Regions from separate parts of the Homo sapiens genome. Here region 2 is linked to region 1. The links are contacts of gene promoters, found by promoter capture Hi-C in human tissues and cell types (Jung and others, 2019). All regions are on one chromosome and are shown on one strand. Each heading gives the region's core, a stretch centred on a gene start or on the middle of the fragment in contact. The rest is flanking DNA. Distances are from core to core; before and after follow the strand shown.

Evidence for each region. The method cuts DNA at HindIII sites, captures the fragments that hold promoters and counts their contacts. A contact is called where the count stands out against the background at its distance.
Region 2: a contact is called between a fragment that was not itself captured here and the fragment with the promoter of FAH in region 1, in 2 of the 25 tissues and cell types used here (dorsolateral prefrontal cortex and lymphoblastoid cells).

The regions. Positions count from the first base shown.
Region 1 is chr15:80,151,696-80,157,477 of GRCh38, reverse strand. FAH (fumarylacetoacetate hydrolase) reads right to left here and starts at 4,479. Exons shown (of 14, transcript NM_000137.4): 1 at 4,343-4,479. The coding sequence starts at 4,423. RefSeq lists a silencer at 4,491-5,050. The HindIII fragment of the contact is 10,148 bases long and covers 1,774-5,782 here.
Region 2 is chr15:79,341,982-79,348,214 of GRCh38, reverse strand. It overlaps a transcript of TMED3 not described here. Among named protein-coding and RNA genes, the nearest start is that of TMED3, 34 kb to the right of the region's middle. The HindIII fragment of the contact is 4,778 bases long and covers 1-4,460 here.

The DNA.
Region 1 (5,782 bases), core at 3,230-5,729:
GCATCAACAAAGATGTCTTAAATATTTGTTAAGTCCTGGTCTTTGTCCCCACAACCCTGAGCTTTGCTCGTCAACAAGAACCCGAGGGCATGTTTGCAGACTCAACTTCCCAGGGCTCTGTCCTGAGCCAGGCTTCCAGCTCTCCTGAACCACCAGCTTGGCCATTTCAGTGCCAGCGAGCTTAGTGGTGGGATTATTGGCTGGCCTTATCTCCATTGGCTGCTCACTGGGGTGGGCTGAGAAAAGATGACCATTTCTCCACGCATGTCAGCTCTTGGAATCGGGGTAGACCAGAGCCATACTCCTCATCTGAGGTCCCAGCAGAGCCTACCCTAGAAGAGGCTGCCTGGAGAGCTTAGTTACTCATTCTCAGCCCCACTGCCAACTCCCTGGGCCTCAGTCTTCCCCTCCTGAAAATGGCAAATCTGCTTTAGGCAAAGAGCTGAACCACCTGAATCCAAGTGGCTTTCCATTCAGGGAATGTGCAGGGCAGACCCTTGGACCACATCTCTGACCCTGGTCCCCACACCCCAGCTGAAGGCAAGAAGGAGTCACCACCAGTAAGCAACTTCCAAAATGGGGTCACAAGTGCAGCTGCCTGCTGCCTCAAATGCAAACAAAGCCTAGAAGCTTCAAACTTGTGCTTCAAACTATGACCTGAGGACCCAGAAAAAGTCTGAGAGAGTGAGTCCCTCTACTTTCAACCTTGGGAGTTATTTTCTTCAGCACAAAACTAGAGGGGGCTCACAGGTCAGATCCAGGATTCCTGGGCTCCAAGTCTGCTCCCTCATTCACCATCTTATCACCTTGGACAAGTCTCTGGGCCTCAGTTTCCCATCTGCAACTTGAGGGAAACAAACTAAGGAGGGAGACCGCATTTGTCTAACTTCAAGAGAATGAATGTGCATTGCCTTTGTTTTAAAATAGTTGGTCATATCTGATATAAAGTTGTCCAAAGGAAAGCATTACCCAACTCCCAGCCTGACATAGAGGGGGAAGCATGGGATTGGTGTGGGCGAAGGATTACCCAGGTGCCGAGGCAAGAGACTGAAGGCATAAACTGTAGCTATACTGCTATACAGTTGTAATACAAATTAGATATACAGATGATCATGGACAATTATCGATTATTAGTATAAACATTATTAATCATTAGTTTTTAATATTACTCTTTATTGTAGTACAATATAACCTAGGAATAACCGGTGGGTATAGGGTCAGGTACTGAAGGGACATTCTGAGAAGTGACCTAGAAGGCAAGAGGTGAGCCCTGTCACACCCGCATAAGGGCCGCTTGAGCGCTCCTTGGTCAAGCGGTAACGCCAGTGCCTGGGAAGGCACCCATTACTTAGCAGACCGCAAAAGGGAGTCTCCCTTTCCTTGGAGGAGTCAGGGAACACTCTGCTCCACCAGCTTCCTGTAGGAGGCTGGATATTATCCAGGCCTGCCCGCAGTCATCTGGAGGCCTAAACCCCTCCCTGTGGTGCTGTGCTTCAATGGTCACGCTCCTTGTCCACTTTCATGTTCCTCCTGTACTCCTGGTTCCTCTTTGAAGTTTGTAGTAGATAGCGGTAGAAGAAATAGCGAAAGTCTTAAAGTCTTTGATCTTTCTTATAAGTGCATAGAAGAAAATGCTGACTTATGCTGCCTTCCCTCTCTGCTTCGGCTACCTTAGAGGGAAGAGCCCCCGTCCCATGATCACATGACTTGCTTGACCTTATCAATCACTTGGATGACTCACCCTCCCTACCCTGCCCCCCTTGTCTTGTGTGCAATAAATATCAGTGTGCCCAGCCATTCGGGGCCACTACCGGTCTCTGTGTCTCAGTGGTAGCAGTGCCCCGGGCCCAGCTGTTCTCTCTTTATCTCTTTGTCTTGTGTCTTTATTTCTTACAATCTCTCGTTTCCGCACACAGGGAGAAAACCCGCTAAGCCCCGTAGGGCTGGACCTTACAGATTGGGAGGCTGACAGATGTGGGGATCAACCCCATATCTGCCTCTTACTGGCTGTGAGATCTGGAGCATGATGCTTTGCCTCTCTGGACCTCAGTTTCCTCATCTGTAGAATGGGGACAATAACTTCACAGTAGGTTTATTGTGAGAATTTAATTAATATCTGTAAATCTCTCACCACAAGAACAGACACAGGGTAGACGCTATTCATGCCACAAAGATTTAGAGAGCATCTTCTCAGTACCAGCATTACACAAAGGCTGCTGAGGCCCTGGGAACAGTGACGTGGTTCCTTCTCTCCAGAAGCAAAAGGAAACACAGGGTGTGGTGAGAGATAACCAAGGCTGGGCCGCAGCGGGGAGCTCATTCAGAGAGGGTGCTTAGGAGGTGACATTTAAGCTGAGTCCCAAAGAGTGAGAAGGGGCCAAGCATATAGAGAGCAGAAGGACGAGTATTCCAGGCAGAAGGAACAACATGTGCTAAGGCCTGAAGGCAGGAAGCTGCTCTTAGCACATCTCAGAGACTCAAAGGCAGCCAATGTGGCTGGAGAAAGCAGAGGCCAGGAGGCAGCAGCACAGCCAGACCACGGGGACTTTAACAAGGCACCCGGCAAAACCAGCTCCACACTACTACAACCCCGTTCTCAGAGGCCACCACCCCTACCTTCACAGAGAGCACCCCTGTACACCTTACTAGTCCATCAACCAGAAATGGAAGGAAGGCGTCTCCTGTGTCTTTGATGCCAACTCGGAGCCCAGGCAAAATCTGGACCAGAGTTGGGGTTCATAAGCATTCGCTGAATAAAAAAAAATGAATAAAGTGATGGCAGGATTCATTGTTATTCCACTCAAATTAGGAAAGGCTGACTGCTGACATGGGGGAAGGGAGGTTTTGCCTTGGCAACTAGTCTTGCCTGGCAAGGCAGCCATCACGGTTGGAATGTCCAATGCCTGCAGAGAAAGCTTCAGAAGAGGCTTGTTCAGCTGGAAGGCCAAAGGGCCAACTCTCCACCCCCAGCACTGTATCAGAGGACAGCGGAATGGGGCTCTCTCTTCCAGACATCTGTAGTGGCTGCCCTGCACATTCTGATGTTGAAACAGCGGGACATGGTGTCTGAAAACACCTAGCCACACTCTAACGGATATTAATTCGATTCCCCTGAGAAAGCAAGTCAGAGCTCCCTACTGGGGTGTGCCTGCCTCTCACAAATGTTTCTGTCTAATGGATTTGTGCTCCCAGGAAAGGTGAGGGAGGACACATCTGCCGAGGGCAAAGTGTTTGAGGAGGGCAGAGGGAGGGCTCTGTCTGCAGAAAGGTTGTTGGCCATCACAAGTTAAGATTTAATGTGCCTCAGATTGTGTCCTCCAGGGGATTGAGTGTCCACTTTCTGTATCCTTGCAACATCTGGTCAGCCCGGCCAGATGTGAAACCACAAGTTGACTCTTCTAGACCAAAGCACTTACCGCAGACAGGCCCACAAAAGGCCAGCCACTTGCATCCAATGACAAGCCATGGGGGAAGGAGGGAACCCCACTTTCCAAGAAGAAGCCAACTGCCAGGCCCCTCGTTTAGCAAACATTTCCTGATTCTGGGGTTCTATGGCTTACAGAGATGAATCAGGAGTTTACCTTTAAAGTTGGGAGCAGAAATCTAAGCCAAAAATATCATCAACAAATCCAAGGGAATCTGCTTTTCCAACCTAGGGAACCTCTTATTATCTATTTGCTGATAAACCCCCAGTTTTCAAATACTTCTTTCTACCAATCAGACTACACTGACTTAGTCAAAGTTTGTTTCCCTGCCCTCTTTCTTCTGATCAGTAGGGGAATGCCAGGGAGCCCACACCAGGAGCTGAAAGAATTTCAGCTATAGGCAGAGACACTTGCCATCTTAGATCTCACAACTCTAAGCCAAGAAACGCGCGTGCCCCTCTGACCTGCTACGCATACCGGGTTATCATTTCCCGGGTTCTAGGGTTAGGGGCTATCCAGCGAGATGAACCACCAGCCCTGACCTGGCCTCTTGGGCGAGAGAAACACACCGCAACCACCTCGGAGTAGGCAGCATGCCTGTGTGCTGCAGCTTCCGGTAACAGAATCCTGCTTGCTCTGCTTGTCTGGGAGAGTGACACGATTCATTTCATTTTGCATTTAATTCTCAGCAAACCTGCGGACAATGAGGCTGAAAAGTTAAACAACGTGCACAGCTAGAAAGTTACGAGGCGGGACTCGAGCCCATAGGCACTCTCACGGAACGAATCTTAAGAGAAAAATGGCACAAGCCTCCATCCCGCCCCTCATTCCACTCCATTCCACTCCACTCCACTCCACTCCACTCCACTCCACTCCACTCCCTCCCCGCGCCCGGACGCCAAAGCCCCACTGCTCACGTCGCCTCTGGTCGAGAAGACGCCGTAGGGCAGGTTGTGGATGGGGAAGTCGGAATCCTCGGCCACCGGGATGAAGGACATGCTGAAGAGCACCCGGCACGGCTGCGGGCCTAAGGTGGCGTGCGGAGAGCAGGACTGAACTCGGCCGCTGTGGTCAGGCCCGGCCCCGCCCCCCTGCCCGCCCCCACGGCCTGTCCGGGTGACACAGCAGGGACCCCGGAGGCTCCTACCTGACTTTTGGTCTCACCGTGAACACCCCGCCCCCGAACCCCGAGCCCTGCCCCTCCCCCCTACCCTGACCCCCGCCAGCTCCAGGTCCTCCACAGTCTCGCCCGCCCTTCCAGAGCCCCGCCCCGCCCCTGGCCCCGCCCCCGTGGGCCTCAGGTCCTCCAGTCTCTCCTCCCTCCCTGAGCCCCGCCCCTCCCCTTGCCCCGACCCCGCGAGCCCCAGGTCCTCCACAGTCTCACCCTCCCTCCCTGAGCCCCGCCCCTCCCCTCGCCCCGCCCCTCCCCTCGCCCCGCCTTGCAAGCCCCAGGTCATCCAGTCTCTCCCTCCCTCCCTGAGCCCCGCCCCTCCCCTGGCCCGGGTACCCGAGAGTCCCAGGCCCTCCAGTCTTGCCTCACTCCCCGAGCCCCGCCCCTCCCCTGGCCCCGCCCCCGTCCTGATCCCCGCCCTGTCCGCGAGTCCACGTGGGGGAGATCTGGTTCCAGCCCCCGCTCGGGGCAGCTAGCTGGTCCTACCGAGAGCAAACCCCAGCTTAGCATTTAAGGCTCTGCCCTGCATGACTCCAGCCTCGCTCGCCCCGGCTGCTGCCCTGCTCTTCAGCTCAACAGAACTCTTGTCCGCTTCCTGGAAACACTTTCTCCCCAAGAGCTGCTCCCTGAGCTTCAGAAGAACACCCAGTCGCGTCCTTTCTGCCTTCATACCATGATGCTCCGTCCAGCTATGACACTTCCACTTGTATGTCAGAGAAGGGGACAGTTAGGCCTGTTTGGAAGGCTTCAATTAATGAGAATTAATATTCTAAAAAATATAACTCACCTGTTTCACATGCCAGTAGTAAAATGACGTTGACAAGATGCTCAACCTTGGACAAGTTACTTAAACTTTCTCTACCTCAGCTTCCTTCTCTGTATAATGTTGATGATAATAGTTCCTACTTCACAAAGTTGATATAAGAATGGAATGAATTAATATTTGTGAAGCACCTAGAATAGTGCCTGGCATATACAGGTTATGTGTGTGTGGAAAGAGAGAGAAGGGAGGGAAAAAGAGGAAAGGAGGGGAGGGGGATAAAGGAAAGGAAAGATAAAAGAGAAATAGGAGAAGAGAGAGAGGGAGAAAGAAAAGAAGGAAGACAGGAAAGAAGGGAAAGGCAGACTATCTTAGGGTGGGTTCAAGGTGTTATCTAATCACTCATGTGCAGTCAGCTGCAGTTTT
Region 2 (6,233 bases), core at 822-3,321, 810 kb after region 1:
GGCAAGTGACTTAACCGGCAAGTTTCTTCAGAGGGCACTGTGCCCTCTTCAGGGGTTAGAGTGAGGGTTAATGATTTAATGCATGTAACTTATTGAAAATATTGCCTGGCAACAGGGTAAGTGCTTAATAATTGTTAGGTCTCATTTTTATTATAGAGCTCTTATCATCTTAATTTCCCACAAGCAATCTATGACTGGGCATCATTCTCCACACTTTGGACAATCTAGTGTTTTTTCAAACATTTTGATCTGGGTAAAATCAGCTATTTTTGTTAACTTTCAAAATGATATGCTTTTTTGGGTATAAGAGTTTTTTCCCTTTTTCTGTGTCATCTCTGATTTCTTTGAGCAGTGTTTTGTAGTTATCCTTGTAGAGATCTTTTACCTCCCTGGCTAGCTGTATTCCTAGGTATTTATTCTTTTTGTGGCAACTGTGAATGAGATTGCATTCCTGGATTTGCCTCTCAGCTTGACTGTTGTTGGCGTATAAGAATGTTAGTAATTTTTGCACATTGATTTTGTATGCTGAGACTACGCTGAAGTTCTTTATTAGTATAAGGGGCTTTTGAGGTGAGACTATGGGGATGTTTAGATATAGTATCATGTCATCTGCAAACAAGGATAGTTTGACTTCCTCCCTTCTTATTTGGATGCACTTTATTTCTTTCCCTTGCCTGATTGCCCTGGCCGTGACTTCCAATACAATGTTGAATAGGAGTGGTGACAGAGGGCAGCCTCGTCTTGTGCCAGTTTTCACAAAGAATCCTTCCATCTTCTGCCCATTAAGTATAATGTTGGCTGTGGGTTTGTCATAGATGGCTCTTATTATTTTGAGGTATTTTCCTTCAATACCTAGTTTACTAAGAGTTTTTAACATGAAGCAGTGTTGAATTTTATTGAAAGCCTTTTCTGCATCTCTTGAGATAATCATGTGGGTTTTTTGTCTTTAGTTCTGTTTATGTAATGAATCATGTTTATTGATTTGCATATGTTGAACAAACCTTGCATCCTAGGGGTAAAGCCTACTTGATCATGGTGGGTAAGCTTTTTGATGTGCTGCTGGATTCAGTTTGCCAGTATTTTGTTGAGGATTTTTGCACTGATGTTCATCTAGGAAATTGACCTGAAGTTTTCTTTATCTGTTGTGTCTCTGCCGTGTTTTGGTATCAGGATGATGTTGGCCTCAGAATGAATTAGGAAGGAGTCCCTCCTCCTTAAATTTTTGGAGTAGTTTTAGCAGAAATGCTACCAGATCGTCTTTGTACATCTGGTAGAATTCAGCTGTGGAATACTTCTGGTCCTGGGCTTTTTTGGTTAGTAGGCTATTTATTACTGGCTCAATTTCAGAGCTCATTATTGATGATGTTTCAAGTAAGGCCACACACATACAACTATCAGGTCTTCTACAAACCTGATAAAAACAAGCAATGAGGAAAGGATTCCCCATTCAATAAATGGTGCTGGGAGAATTCGCTAGCCATAGGCAGGAGATTGAAACTGGACCCCTTCCTTACACCATATACAAAAATCAATTCAAGATGGAATAAAGACTTAAATGGAAAACCCAAAACTATAAAAACCTGATTAGTTTGTTCTCATGCTGCTAATAAGGATGTACTCAAGACTGGGTAATTTATAAAGAAAAAGAGGTTTAATGAACTCACAGTTCCCATGGCTCAGGAGGCCTCACAATCATGGTGGAAGGTGAAAGAGGAGCAAAGGCACATATATATGGTGGCAGGTAAGAGAGCATGTGCAGGGGTACTGCCCTTTATAAAACCATCAGATCTTGTGAGACTTATTCACTATCATGAGAACAGGATGGTGGGAATAGCCCCCATGATTCAATTATGTCCACCTGGTCCCTCCCACGACACATGGGAATTATGGGATCTACAATTTAAAATGAGATTTGGGTGGGGACACAAAGTCTAACCATATCAAAACCCTATAAGACAACCTAGGCAATACCATTCTGGACATAGGAACAGGCAAAACTTCATGACAAAGACACCAAAAGCAATTGTAACAAAAGCAAAAACTGACAAATGGGATCTAATTAAACTAAAGAGCTTCTGCACAGCAGAGGAAACTATCAACAGAGTGAAGAGCCAACCTACAGAATGGGAGAAAATTTTTGCAAACTATGCATCTGACAAAGGTCTAACTCCAGCATCTATAAAGAACTTAAACAAATTTACAAGAAAAAATACAAACAACTCCATTAAGAAGCGGGAAAATGACATAAACAGATACTTTTCAAAAGAAGGCATACACGTGGCCAACAATCTTATAAAAAAGAGCTCAACATCACTGATGATTACAGAAATGCAAATCAAAACCATGAGAAGATGTCATCTTACACCAGTCAGAATGGCTATTAGTAAAAGGGAAAAAATAACAGATGCTAGTGAGGTTGTGGAGAAAAAGGAATGCTTATACACTGGTGGTGGGAATGTAAATTAGTTCAACCATTGTGGAAGACAGTGTGATGATTCCTCAAAGACCTATAAGCAGAAATATTATTTGACCCAGCAATCCCACTACTGGGCATATACCCAAAGGAATATAAATTGTTTCGTTATAAAGACACATGTATGTGTATATTCATTGCAGCACTACTCACAATAGCAAAGACATGGAATCAACAACCTAAATGCCCACCAATAATAGACTGGATAAAGAAAATGTGGTACATATAAACCATGGAATACTATGCAGCCAGAAAAAGAACAAGATCATGTCATTTGCAGGAACACGGATGGAGCTGGAGGTCATTATCCTTAGCAAACTAATGCAGAAACAGAAAACCAAATACTGCATGTTCTCACTTATAAGTGAGAGCTAAATGATGAGAACACATGGACACATAAAGGGGAACAACACACTATGGCCTATCAGAGGGTGAAGGGTGGGAAGGGAGAGGATCAGGAAAAATAACTAATGGGTACTAGGCTTAATATCTGGGTGATGAAATAATCTGTACAACAAACCCCCATGACACCAGTGTACCTATGTAACAAACCTGCACATGTACCCCTGAACTTAAAAGTTAATAAAAAATAAAGTAAATAAATTTTTAAAAAGAGCTTTCTATTTTTCTTCCCTGTCTGGATCTTTGGCCCAGTCTTTCTATTGAGTTGGTGGTCCTCTTCTTCCTGATTGGTAGCTCTCTATATTTATATGTCTTTCATTGTCCCCCTGTTTTCTCTCTTTCTGTGAGCATTTCCATTAAATTCCCATATGCTGCTCTGTCTCTCAAATTATAAAACAAAAACAGTCTCTTCCACATCTCCTTCCGGCTACTGCTCAAACACAGCAAAGCTTTAAAGTTAAACTCCTATAAAACATTGTCTCCCTTTCACACTGCCTCATCTCACTGGGCTCACTACAGTGAAGTCTTTGCCTCCAATGTTTCGTACAAATTACTCTTGTTAAGTCACCAACGATCTCGACCTTGCCAGATCCAAAGTTCAGTTACCAGTTCTCTTCTTGCTGGCCCTCTGGGTTGAATGAGGTTCCCCCAAATTCATGTCTTCCTGGAACCTGGGAATGTGACCTTAAAAGAAAAAGGGTTTTCTGCAGATGTAATTAAAGTAAGGATCTCAAAATAATGTCATCCTGCATTAGAGGACCCTAAATCCAATGACAAATCCTTATAAGAGAAAAGAGAGAGAGACCAAGAAACCACCATGTGAAATGGAGTTGGGGGTTTGGTGGTGTGTCATGGAACCTAGTCATGTATCCTAGCCTGGGGCCACCAGAATCCTGGAGAGAGACATGGAATGAGCTCTTCCCCAGAGCATCTGGAAGGAGCCAACCCTGCCAATACCTTGACTTTAGAATTATGGTTTCCAAAGCTGTGAGAGGAAAAAATTATGTTGTTTTAAGCTTCCCAGTTTGTGGTCATTTGTTACAGCAATCCTAGGACGCCAACACCAGCTCTCAGCAGCAGCATTTGACACCGAGGCTCACTCCTCACTCCTGAAAAGGCATCTTCTGGTGCCTTGTGGGCCACCACACTCTGGGGGGTTCCTTCTGTCTTTCCAGCTGCTCCCTCTCACTTTCTATTTGACCTTCTCTTCTTCTCAACTTCTATAAGTTGGAGGCCCATGGGATCTAGACCTGCTTTTCTGTCTTTATTTACTTGGTGAACTACGTAGGCCGAGTGTTTTTATTTCACCTTCTATCTACATATTTATGGAATCTCAAAGTTTTCTCTCCAGCCCAACCTACACTCTGAATTCCAGACTCATATGGCTGTTGAATTGCTATCTCTGCAGGACCTCTAATAGCGATCTCCAACTTAACATGGCCAAAACAGAGTGCTAGATCTGCCTCCACCAAAACTCCATCCCCAAACTCTCCTTCCCACAGTCAGGCTCATCTCAGTAAATGAGACTACCTTTCACCTGGTAGTTCAAATTCACAAAGTTGTCATTGACTCCTTTCTTTCTTTTGTGCCTCATATTCAACCCAAGAGCCTGTCCCACATCCTTCACCTCTCCAGTTGGTTGAATCCATTGTCATGTCTGCCTGGACTATGGCAGTAGCTCCTCACTCCCTGCATCCACTCTTACCCCTGCAGTCTACTACCCACAAAGCAGCCATAGTGACCCTTTGAAATATAAATCAACACAAATTTGAAGATTCATAGAAGCCCGATTTGTAATAGTGAAAATCAGAAACAACCCAAATATCTTTCAGTGTATGGATGTCTAAATAAAATGTGATACATCCATAGCATAAAATACTACTCAGAAATAAAATGAAAGAGCATATATTATGCTGAGCGAAGACAGATGATCTCAACAGGCCACATGTTGCATGATTCCATCTACGTGACATCTTCAAAGTGACAAAGGTACGCAGATGGAGAACAGATTAGTTGTTAACAGGCACCAAGGGTGGTAGAAGGGAGGGCAGTGTGTATGAGTATAAAGGACTGGCATGGAAGAGATCTCTGTAGTGATGGACAGAGTGTCTTGGTGATGGAGGTTGTATGCACCGTCCCATCATGGCCTGAAAGCTTTCTGTGAGCTGGCTCCTGGGTACCTTGAACTTCACTTTTTAACCACTATACCCCTTTCTCACTGCCACACCAATTCTTATCTCCATGCTGTTCCTCAAACAAACCCTTATATTTCCATCTCCAGACCTTTGCAATTGCTCTTTCTCCTAGCTGAAATGTCCCCTGCTCAAACAAAATCTCATCGATGAGACCTTCCTTACTACCCAATCTCAGTAATACCTATTCTCACTCCATCTCACTCTTTATACCCACACCTAACTTTGTCTTTATAGCACTTATCAGTACCTAATATTACATACATTTACTACTTTATCTGTTTATTGTCTGGCTGTTCCATGAGATGTAAGTTTCACAAAGGCAGGAACTTTGTGTTTTATGTTATTATCTCCCCAGTGCTAAGCAGGGCCCAGTGTAACACAGACACTTAACAAATGGTTATTAACTACTTAATTAATTAAGATGACTAATCTTTTGTGATATGAGTTGTAATATGAGTTTTTCCTCAGTTTGCCTTTTGTCTTTTGGTTTTGTTTATACAGTGTATATGTGTGTGTTTGTGTGCATGCTTTACCATGCAACAATTTTAGATTCTAGGTAGTTAGATTTATCAACTTCTTTTATGATATTGTACTTCAAAGGACTCCCTTAAGGTAAATAATATTATTTTCAAAGATTTTCCTCTAGCATTTAAATTTTTTTCTTTGTAATGTTTACAATTTTTATCTACCTGGAAGTTATTTTAGCATAAAGTATGAAGCAGAGATTAACCTTTTTTGATATAAAAGTTGTGACACTGCTTTATTTTTCTTTCTGTTCACATAGTATATCTTTGCCAACCCTTCTTCAAATTTGCTGGACAACTTGGTCTTAATTGTGTTTCTTGTATACAACATCTTGTTTATGTTGCATACAACATAAAATTGGGTTTTGCTTTGTGATCCAACATTTTCTCTTCTGATAGATGAGTATCATTTTCCTTATCTATATGTCAGATATGGTTGATGTAAGATCTTTTATCCTATCTTTATTGCTTATATCTCTGCTTCAAACTCTTGTTTTGTAACGACAATTACTTATTTCTTAAACTGATAATGACATATTTAGTCATAATTTTCATCTGCCCCCATCCACGTTTTTTAGTTTTTCTCATCTTTAATGTGTTTTTATGTGTCATTTTTATTTTGTCACATTTTTGTACCAA